Linked DNA regions of Homo sapiens: region 2 is linked to region 1. Evidence: promoter capture Hi-C in 16 types of primary human blood cells and fetal thymus (Javierre and others, 2016). All regions are on one chromosome and are shown on one strand. The core of a region is centred on a gene start or on the middle of the fragment in contact, and the rest is flanking DNA. Distances in the headings are between cores, read along the strand shown.

Evidence for each region. The method cuts DNA at HindIII sites, captures the fragments that hold promoters and counts their contacts. A CHiCAGO score of 5 or more calls a contact.
Region 2: a fragment that was not itself captured here is called in contact with the fragment with the promoter of CCDC184 in region 1 in 1 of 17 cell types (erythroblasts); the score reaches 5.6 in erythroblasts.

What each region holds. Positions count from the first base shown.
Region 1 is chr12:48,180,504-48,186,320 of GRCh38, forward strand. CCDC184 (coiled-coil domain containing 184) reads left to right here and starts at 3,141. Exons shown (of 1, transcript NM_001013635.4): 1 at 3,141-5,423. The coding sequence starts at 3,620. The coding sequence ends at 4,204. The HindIII fragment of the contact is 3,853 bases long and covers 884-4,736 here.
Region 2 is chr12:47,666,205-47,672,021 of GRCh38, forward strand. It overlaps RPAP3 (RNA polymerase II associated protein 3), which reads right to left. Exons shown (of 17, transcript NM_024604.3): 13 at 3,903-4,141; 14 at 2,712-2,898; 15 at 1,550-1,647; 16 at 776-876. Among named protein-coding and RNA genes, the nearest start is that of RPAP3, 37 kb to the right of the region's middle. The HindIII fragment of the contact is 1,123 bases long and covers 2,457-3,579 here.

The sequences.
Region 1 (5,817 bases), core at 1,891-4,390:
CTAGACTTTTCTACCTCATCTCATTTTCACACAGAGTTCCTGAAATGATCTGGTTTTCTATCAGATGCACCAATGTCTCCTTCCTATATTTTCTTTTTCTTTTCTTTTCTCTTTTCTTTTCTTTTCCTTCCCCTTCCCCTTCCCTTTCCCTTTCTTTCTCTTTCTTTCTTTCCTTCTTTCTTTTCTTTCTTTCTTTCTTTCTTTTCTTTCTTTTTCTTTCTTTCTTTTTCTTTCTTTCTTTTCTCTCTCTCTCTCTCTCTCTTTCTTTCTTTCGACTAAGTCTTGCTCTGTCACCCAGGCTGGAGTGCAGTGGCACAATCTTGGCTCACTGCAACCTCTGCCTCCTGGGTTTGAGCGACTGTCCTGCCTCAGCCTCTGGAGTAGCTGGGATTACAGGTGCCCACCACCATGCCCAGCTAATTTTTGTGTTTTTAGTACAGACAGGGCTTCACCATGTTGACCAGGCTGATCTCAAACTACTGATCTTAAGTGATCCACCCACCTCAGCCTCCCACAATGCTGGGATTACAGGCATGAGCCACCGCACCCAGCCACCTTCCTATATTTTCAAATCCTGCTACTGGTCCACTCCCCCAGTTCCCACCTACCCTTGGCTCTCAAATGTTTGACCTGGAACTTGACTGGACCAGCCAAACTGCTTGATCTCTGCACATGTTTCCCATGGCCTTTTGTGCTTCTCCAATAATTTCCCCTCCCTCTGGGCTCAGATCCCTTGTACTCTCAGTGGACTTCATGGCCAGCACCTCTGGACAGCATGATGTAATCTTATGCTGAAAGCCTTCACATCCTCAAGAATAGTGGCAAAAGGCCTTGTATGATGACATACCATAGCTCCTCCTGTATGGGGGCTATGCTTAGTGTAAGCTTATGGGATTTCAACAATGAGAGGTCCCCCACTGGGACAGAGTCACTCTTTGTAGGTAGAAGGTAGGGATATACCTGAAGGGTGAATTGGCAAGATGAAATCTTCCATGTGAAGTGCTTGTCAAGAGATGTAAAGTAACAGACCTAGACAGAAAGTCTGAAAGCCATGCCAGTCTTTTCTGGCTATAGCAGAGCTCTCCTCGGAAGGATGAAAGCAGGGTTGGACCTATAAGCCCTGAGAACATGCTTGCTGTAGTATAATCAGAAACTTATGCTGTGTAAGCTCAGCTGTTTTCATGTGTTCTGTTTCTATTTCTAGTTTTCCTATAGTTTTTAATAAAGTCTCTTTGTAAACACCAGCCCACTTCAGCTGTGCTTATGGAAACCAAGGAAAAGCATTTCTGTCCTCTCTTGAGCCAGAGTTTCAGGAGTAATCTAAGGTGTTATTACCACGTGTGGGGTACAGAGCAGAGGTAGGAGTCCTAAGCAAGGTGAGAGTGCTGGAAATCTGTAGAATGAAGGAAGAAATGAGCAAGCAAATAGAATTGAATCATTAGTTTCAGAAAATACAATACTGTGTTTTTAAAATTTGTTCATATATTTGTTTTGGGAAATCAAATTTTTAATGGCTGCATAATACTTTATGTATCAGCAATTTTGCCTTAGTTTATTTAAACATTCTGCTGCTGGTCATTTAGGATAGTCCCCACTTGTTTCTATTTTAAAAGCAGTAAGATTGGTATAGGTCAAGCAGTCCTCTAGTGTCACAAAACTTTCCCTGGGCCAGCCTCACTCTTCATCACCAAGCACATAACCAGGGAAACCCAAAGGTAACACATTTGCTGTCACTGAACCGCCAGTCTACAAAACACTCACCTTTACGTAGTTCTTCTCTATCTTGAAGTGATATAGTTTGTTTCTCTTTCCCAGATTTATTCTTATGAACTTCATTTTTGGCTTCCGATCACTTGGCTTCCCTAATTTCCTAGGGTCATTATTAATTATTGTGCTCTGCCCAGGTGCTGATTCCTTCTCAATCTGCAATCATCTACGTATATTAAAGACAATTTTTCTTCTTCCTCCACCCTTCCTGCTCCACCCCTTAAATAGGGAAAGGGCTTGTCACAAAGGTTGGGGATACTCAGTGTATGTCTGAACTTGGGCACTGAAAGAGAGAGCGGGAATTACTCTAACACACAGTCCCCCCATCCATACCCTCCACACAACGGTCAACAGTTTACCTTTTCACCTGTGAGATGATGCAGACTGTTATTCAGAATTAGAAATAGTATTATAGATTATCCAGTCCAATTCCCTAACAGATGAGGAAAATGATGTGGCCAAGGTCGCTGAATGAATAAGTGGCAGAAACGAAACTGAATTCAGGTCTCCTAAAACCCACTACGTTTGGCTTGGGGAGTTCTGGATGAGAGCGTGGGACTTGGTGGTTTTTGTTATTCATTCAATAACTATATTAAGCATCTACATACTAGGTGCCAGGCACTATTTTAGGAGCTGGGGATTCCGTGATGGAGGGTGCAGGGGAGACAAAAATCTCTCCCCTTATGGAGCTTTCATTCTCAAAACTTAAGCACTTGGCCTCCCCATCTGGGACAAACTCCCAGAGACCTGCGTAGGAGCGGTAGGGTCTCATAAAGGAGGGAGTCCCATCCTTCCCCCGCTCCGGTGATTTCTATAGCTAGAGGGCTGATTTACTGCAGAAACCTCCGTAGCGCCCTCCTCCTGCCTCTGCACCGTCAGGCCCGGTGGGTCCGGCTCCAGAGCGCCACCGTGCCCCAGCTCAACTCTGGGATCATTAGCAACAGCCTCTCTACCCTCTCCGCTTTCCTGCGCATCGCTGGAGGACAGGGAGGCAGGACTCGACTTTAGCGCCATCCTCTGAGAAAGGAATGCGGGCTGGAAAAATCTTTCCAGGGCAGTCTCGCTGGGTCTCATACCCCGGCTAGGGGAGGGACGATCTCTCCCGGACTTGGAGGTTTCTGCAGCAGACGGCTCTCTCATACTTCCCTATTAAACATTGCGACCACACGCTCTTTCCAGCCTTGGCCGAAGCCACTGTAGCGTCCCCTCTCCTCCCCCCACCCCGCTAGTCCAGACTCCAGAGCCCCACTGCAGCTTCCAGCCATCCTCCCTTTTTCTTCGCCACTTCCTGGTTACCATGGAGACACACGTCATTTACGTGCCGTGCGTCGCCTTGGAAACAGAGGAGCATCCGCGACACCCCCGGGAGACCCACCCCAGCTGCTGCTGCCACACTCGCGGGCGCTGCCCGGTAATGGCCTGGGGGAGTCCCGAGTCCGACGCGCCGCTGGCCTCAGCCTGGACGCGGACCCCTCCGCGAGCGCGTCTGTGACCCACGGAACCGGCAGGCGCTCTCTGCTTGTGGCGCCCAGAGGGCGGCGCTGACACGGGCGCGATCCGGGAGGCGAGGCAGGGCAGGGCACTTTCGTCCCGGGGCGATCCCAAGAGACGCCGGCTCTGGGACCCTCGCCGGGTCCTCGTCCCGCAGCCTCTTCTCGGCCTCCCGCGATCCTGCCTGCGCCCTCTGCCCAGGACTCGTCTCTCACGTCGGCTCCCCGCCAGTCTCGGGAGCCTCCGCTTCCCTCGGCTCCCGCTAGCCCCTCCCGGGACCTCTCCCCCTCCACCCCCTCCCCCACCCCGGAGGCCGGGCTGGACGCGACCCAGAGCCTCCGCCACCCGCTTCTGCCACTCAATGGAGGACGGTCTGCTGGAGATCATGACCAAGGACGGCGGCGACATGCCGGCGCCCCTGGAGGTGTCCACCGTGCCGGCAGTGGGGGACGTGATCTCCGGGGAGTACAACGGCGGCATGAAGGAACTGATGGAGCACCTGAAAGCCCAGCTGCAAGCCCTGTTTGAGGACGTGAGGGCCATGAGGGGGGCCCTGGACGAGCAGGCCTCGCACATCCAGGTGCTCTCGGACGACGTGTGCGCCAACCAGCGAGCCATCGTCTCCATGTGCCAGATTATGACCACTGCGCCCCGCCAGGGCGGCTTGGGCGTGGTCGGCGGCAAGGGGAGCTTCCAGAGCGACCCCCAAGAGCCGGAGACTCCTTCGCCTGGGATCGGGGACAGCGGCTTGCTGGGTCGCGATCCCGAGGACGAGGAGGAAGAGGAAGAAGAGAAGGAGATGCCCAGCCCCGCCACACCCTCCAGTCACTGTGAGCGCCCCGAAAGCCCCTGTGCTGGTCTCCTTGGGGGGGACGGGCCACTTGTGGAGCCCCTCGACATGCCCGACATTACCCTGCTGCAACTGGAGGGCGAGGCCTCCCTGTGAGGGGACTCCGTGGGGCACTACCTTCCCGGGCTGTCTTTGGGTTTCCGAGTGCATGACGCGAGGGGGACTGAACGGCGCGGTGCGGCATGCTTCACTTGGACAGCTGCTCTTGTGGGTCAGGCAGAGAGAGACTCCCTCGAGGAAGGATTTGTAGGGTGAAGGACTTTGGGAGCATCGAGAATTCTTTCTGCCCAACTAAGCGAATTATAGCGAACTGCGGAAAGGTGAGGCTCCGGGAGAGGAAGCGCCCATCTCTGGACTCCCATCCATCCCTATCCTGTCCTTTCCCCCTTCCCAGACAACAGGAGAACCCGTGAATTGTGTAAATAAAATTCTGCTTTTTCTATTCTGAAAAAGGACTTACCTAGGACCATGGCAAATAATCTCTAACAATTTACCTGGAAATTAAGGAATTGGGGGTATTTTGTTCTGGCAACAGGAAATTTACCCTTCTGCTGAAATCCAAGATATTCAGTGCTCTGCAGAAGCCTCTCCCCCTCACAGATCTCTGCGGCTGCTGATTGGTAAAGGAAGCTTGAGGAGGGAACTGCAGCCCTAGGAATCTGGGTGAATGGGGTTCCAAGGGCCCCTGGGCTGGGAGGAGCTGGCTATGAATGTGCATGAAGACATAATAGCTCAACCTCTAGGATTTTGCATGCAGAGCGGATCCTGCCTTGTCACTGACTTCATCTGGGATTGCTTTTCCACTCCCTGGGGCTTAGAGAACAAAGAGCCCGGTTCACAGGCAGAGACTCGGGGGTGCTCAGCAGCAGCCCAGATTTAGGGGACATTTGAGGGACTCTTGGGGCCGCAGCCAAAAACTGTCTCTCCTGGCTACACCTGCTTAACTTCAGTTCCTTTTTCTGTCAATATGTCCTTGCCCACTGCCTCTCGGTGTTGCCTTCATAATGTCTTGTGTGTGTTATGTGTGTCTACTTGTGTAGTAGTGTGTGAGCCCTCAGGGGCAGGGCTTGTGGCTCTGGTGTTAGGTTCAGGGGCTTCAGACCCTTCTACGAGCTCCAAGCTATCAATGGCGCTTTTCTCTCCCTCTTCCCCCAACCAGGGCATGGAGCATGTGGCTGTCCTGAGGTTCTTTTACTGATGTGCCGCCCTTCCACCTCCTCAAGTGGTGACTTTGTGTGCCCTCCCCCTCCTTTGTGTATTCCTTCTCAATGCTTTCCTTGGTGTTAACCTTAATAAAAAGGCGTCATCTCCCCTCCTTGCTGACTGGTACTAAGGGGATATCAGGGTGGGTCTTAGTGGGAACTGCAGGGGCCATGCCTTCCCTCCTCTCTCCTTGCCTCCAGTTCAAGGAGTTGACTGTCCCTGCCCTGGTTGGGACAGGCATTGCCAACTCTCCCTGCTTTCCCTTCTGTCCTGGACCTTGACCTCAAGCTGCCCTGGGGAAGGAGGTGGTAAGTGTTGAGACTCCCATGCTAACATGAGTTTTTAGTAGCCAGAACTCCAAATGTGCAGGAGACTTCTTTTTCAGTGAAGCATCCCAGTGAAGCCCTGGGAAATGATTTCCAAATCTGGGTCCTGGAATGGCAGATACTGCACCTGTTCCATGGAGGGAGTGGGGTGGGGGTATTGTTCTGGAGGGATTGCCTGGG
Region 2 (5,817 bases), core at 1,768-4,267, 510 kb before region 1:
GCATAGTGCAATTTTACTTTAATTAGGATTTCTCAAAACGGACTCTTTATGCCAAAAATTGTGATGTGGAAATAAAAAAGAAATACAATTCTTCAGGTTCATCACCTGCCACTCATTACTCCCTATTCTACAATCCAGCCATACCATTTTAAATTCTCTGGACTCAATTTGCTCTTTCCTGCCTCAGAACCACTACATGTATCATTCTTTCAGTCTAAAACTCTCTTGCCCAGCCTTTCCTCTGACTCTTGCACTTCTTTGAGAATTCAGCTAAAATCAAACTCAAGGAAATTACCTCTCTCAGAATGGATCAGACCTTTCCTGTACCTCGCCCAGTTACATGGTCCTGTGGCTTTGATCCTTTACATAGTAACAGTAGGAACTCCACCATTATACCATTTACTGCGTTTTCAAGTAGAAGAGCTCAGACTATGGAGTTGGACTGCCTGGGTTCGAATCCTAGGTCTGGCTTCCTAGCTATGTGACCTTAGCAAGTTTCTTAGCCTCTCTATACCTGTTTCCTCCTCTGTAAAAGGAGAGTGAAAACAGTACCTACACTTCATAATATTGTCAGGACTAACAAAACAATTTTAACTGTTCTTGTTATCCAATTTAATTAACTTAAATATAATTTAATATCATCCAATTTAAATATAAATATTTAATTAAATATAACCTTATACACAATAAGTAGTCAATAAATGTCAGCTATTATTTGTTGAATGAATACAGGAATGTACAAAAATAAACATGGGAAAACTTTCATAGAACTTACTCTTTTTCTCTGTTTCTGACATAAACATCACTGCCATATCAAACCTTTTTAGTTCAGAAAGTCTTTGTAAGATTTCAAAGATGAGTAATGGCTTTTCTTTCCTGAAATAATCCAAATATAGAAACAAATGATCAGTTAAAAGCAGCTCATTTATTAATAATTCTGTTTACTAACACAATACTTCTAATTATACATAAATGACATCATTTTTTCCCCTGGATACCTGTATTTTAAATGCCCAAATGAAGAGATTTATCAAGTCAACTGAAGAAATTACAATATTCTTAAATGAGAGCTTAGTACGGAAACTATTATTCTGTGAAAACACTGGTCATTTCCATACCCTACTTTTCTCTACAAAAAAATTAGAGTCCTTTTTCCTCCCTTTTAAACTTTTCCCTTTTTATTGTCTGTACTTGTCATTTCCTTGCAACTTCTCTAACAATGAAACTTACAAGAAAGCTAACTTTGCTATATGCTGCTAATTTGCTATATACATTCAAAGAGAATCAACTTCCCAAATCATTGGAAATAGCATAGCATCATAAGAGTACAGTAAATTCTCACTTAACATCATCAATAGGTTCAGGAAAACTGTGACTTTATGTAAAACGGCATACTGTATAAACAAACCAATTTTACCATAGGCCAATTGACATAAACAAGACTTATGTTCCTATGTCTTAATCATTTTAATTAAAATTGCAGTTTCCAAAAACCTATCAATAACATTAAGTGAGGACTTACTGTATAACTAAAAAAAACTTGACTTACTCAATGTAAAAGTCATGCAGAATTTTAACGATCTGGTTGAATACATCTGGATCCAGATTTTTCTGAAACAACTTAGGATACAAAGATGGTTCAATTTGCTTGAAAAAAAAATAAAAAGACAATTACTTGATGGCAACACTTACATATCACAAATTACACAACAATTGCTTGGGTAAAAATAGTAAAGAATAACTACTTTGGGAGGCCAAGGTGGGAGGATCACCTGAGGTTGGGAGTTCGAGACCAGTCTGACCAACATGGAGAAACCCCATCTCCACTAAAAATACAAAAAATTAGCCGGGCATGGTGGCACATCCCTGTAATCCCAGCTACTCGGAGACTGAGGCAGGAGAATTGCTTGAACCTGGGAGGCAGAGGTTGCGGTGAGCTGAGATTGCGTCATTGCACTCCAGCCTGGGCAACAAGAGCAAAACTCCGTCCAAAACAAAAAGAAAAGAATAACTACTATGCATTAGCACTTATGAATAATAATGGAGTCACATTAAAATGCAATTATGATAGAAGAATGAAAGTTACAGGAACTGCATGATAATCACTCTATTCTAGTCACAGAAAAATCTTATGAGCAGAAGAGATATACACCATCCTAAGAGAGACAGGAAACTTTAAAGGCTCTCAAAGAGCAATAAATATAACTAGAGATTTTTAAAAGTAGAATTACATGAGAAAACGTATTTGGAAGTAATTTTATATTGCATAATTATTAGGAAATGTTACTCTCATTACACTTGAAAAGGACCATGCTAATTCATTATTTGCTAAATTTCATGGGATTTGATTCTTTTTCTTAAAGCAAATATTAGAAGAATGATTGCCTACATATTGCAAGCACTGCTTGGCACACAGAAGACACTCAATGTATTTTAGGGTTTTTTTTGAAGGATTAAGCTTAAGCTAATATATATGAAATTAGATTACGTTATTTGAGACAATAGAATTTGACATAGAATCTATTGCCAAAGGAGAACATCAAGGTTCCCTGGTTGTAAATATTTTTAAATGGTCTGACCAGGGTGATGTATTCTACAATAATTTCTACAATAATATCCTATAAAAAGCAAATACGGCACCATTATTATAAAGTGACAGAAGTTCTCTGACCTTTTACTTACAACAGAAGTACTACCTTCCTCTCTCTTACCTTTAAATACTGATACAACATATCTGGAGAACTTTTCAATTGTCTGAAATCAGATTCGAGCTGGAACGAGTTTGCAGGAATTGGAGGAAGAACAGTTGTGGCAAACTGAGCAGGTTTTTGTTCTATCTCTATGGGCATTTTCTCGCTGTAAGACTGACATACATCCTGCTTCAAACTGGCTTGAGGTCTGAAATATTTCAGAGGTATCAAACAGAAAAGAACCATAAATAATCATAGCTCAATCAAGGAGACATCAATAAAAATTTTTAAATTTTTGACTATTAATATTGTATTATCTATTTGTATTATACAAGCATTCAATTATTTCAGCTAATAATATATAAACATTTTTTGGCAAAACAGATTATGCTCTTGCAAATTTTCACATGCTGGCTATGTAATGACTATTCTCCTCTGCTGGGCAGCTAACCTATCCACCTTTTGAGTATACCATTTCTATATATTTCAATTACCATGTCACATACACTAATGATTTAGCCTTTCAAAGATCTAAATGATCATTTTCAAGATATTCCAAAAAGGAAGAAATGCTTCTTCCAAAAAAAACTGCCTATATAGTATTGTCCCATGATCTATACTATCACTTTAAATAAAAGTACTACTAAAGTTCAAAGTTTAAAAGAAAAAAACAACTTTTAGCAGGTTTGTTGAGTGGCAATGTAAAAATATATGAGTAAGGTTTCCATACCTCAAAATGAACCTAATTAGTCTATATCTTCTATATTCTCATTATCAAGAAAAAACACATAAACTATTTTTTAAATGCCAAACAAAAGTTAGAGTCCACAACAGTCTTAAATACTAATGGATGAAATAATGGCAATCCATAAATTCTACATTTTTATGAAGCTTCCTTTTAAAAAACTAAAATTTTGCTGAACTAAATAATAAAACTGAAATCCTAGAAATGAAAATTTTTAAACAAAATCAATTTTCAAGATACCTTCTTATCTTTAAATTTCACACTGTGGTTAAAAAAAAAATAGTAATCATTCTTTAAGCAAAATCACCCTTACAATAAGTACAAACAAAAAAGAAAAGCTAGAAACTTAAGTTAGGCAGTTCAAAAAATTAGCATGATGAGTACAAATCAGAAGTCTCAGTAATATCAATTCTCCATTGGAATTAACCCATTCTGGATGATCAGCAAATAACAGTATTTCTACTCACTGCAGGGATGAAGTATCACTGACTTCTTCTATTTTCAATACTTTTGCTCTTGGAGTATCACTTGTGGGAAAAAGGTCATCTTGGCTTGAATTCTTCTTACTTGTGGTGCCTGTGGCTGCTATTACATTTGCTAGATTAATAGGATTATTCTCTGGAGCAGCAGCAGTAGTGCTATCTGGCACATCAATAGTCTGTATCAAATTACCAGTTTCTTCAATAATAACCTTCTTGAGTGGTTTCTAAAACAATTAAAATCAATTCCTTAAATCAAAATATTAAAGGTTTCCTATTTTAGGGTCACAAGTTAAAAGGCTGCAATGATCTTACAGCTAATATCCCAGTGATTAGTAAATTCAATTTGGTGGCTAGACAGACTTAGAAGTCTGAGAATACAAAAATAAAAAGCTATACAAAGCACTTATCCCAGGTAGGTCGAAACAAGGGAGAGAGACATGTATACGTAAATATATAAGGCCATGGTCATGTTTAAGAGATGAAAGCACAAAACGCTAAGAGAACACAGGAAGGAAGATAAACACTGGCATGAGGGAAGCCTTCACAGAAAAAGCACACAGGAATGGCAAAGTTGAAGGGTGCAGCACAGTCAGTGGAAAGGTGAGAAGTCCAGTGGGGCTGGTGCACGGCACGGCATGGTGGAGATGAAGCCTCAAAGGCAGTTTGAAGACAGCTTATGAAGGGACTTGGATGCCATGAAAGGAGTCTGGACTCTATTCTAGGGGCAATACAGCAAAGAAATTACCAAACCAACAGCAGTATTGTGGACTAACTGAAGGCAAGTGGAATAAGGGCAGACAATAACCAGCATTATGTATGGGATAGACTATCATTAAAACCTAAACACATTGTCTCAATATATAGCAGCTGGATAAAACTAGCCCAGGATTAAAAATCTGCCAAGTAATATTCACAAAGTTGGTAAAAGTAAACCCTTTTTTCCAATTTAATAAAATAAATGGCTTTCATTGTTTATCTCAATCACTACACACGTGTCATTTTCAACTTATGTTGATATTTAATAATATATGTATATCTAATAAAATATAACAATATTCTTCACTATATCATCATACCAAACACACAGAAATACACTGAGGAGCTATTGTTACACCAAGGGCATTGAAAAATGAAACAAGTTAAGAAAAGCTTCTTCTAAAATTTGCAAATATTGATTAACAGTTGCAGCTATATACTTTTGTATATGTTTGAAATTTGTTTTAGCTTTAGAAAAGAGAAGAAAACTTTCCTCAATGTACTCTAAGTATACATTCCAACTACATAGTTGAATTATAAATTGAAAAGTTGTAAATATAAGCACTTCTTCTTCTGCAATAGATAACAAACTCAATGTTAAAACCAGAAATTCCATTAATGCAGCTAAGATATGACCCCAATGGTAATAAATGAGTGTTACTAAACGAAGGTACAAAAATGAAAAAGCTGTAAGAAAATTTATAACAGAATTCTTCAAGCAGTTCTATTTTAAAGAATAATCATATTAAGTTAAGGCCTATGCTTTGCTAAGAACTGTATCAGCAAAAGTTTTTATGAAGATACTGATCAAGAATGGATATGTGTATTAAACCCTATCCTTGACAACAGATATGTAAATAATGATTTGAATTTATGAATTTCCTAATCATTGGTCTCTGTTAAGTGTAGACCCGGGGTACTGAGAGCCACTGAGGGTCACTGATGACAGCTGGAAGGACTGTGGGGAAGAACAGTATGCTAGTAACAGGAGTAAACCATAAAAGAAACCACTATAGAAAGAACTTAAGAAAATATGAAAGGTTCAATTCACTCCTTTTTTAAAATCATGACTCGGAAGCGTAACATTTTATTTAGTTGTATATTGTGACCATTTAAAAAAAAAGTGAGAGAGAGAGAGAAGAAC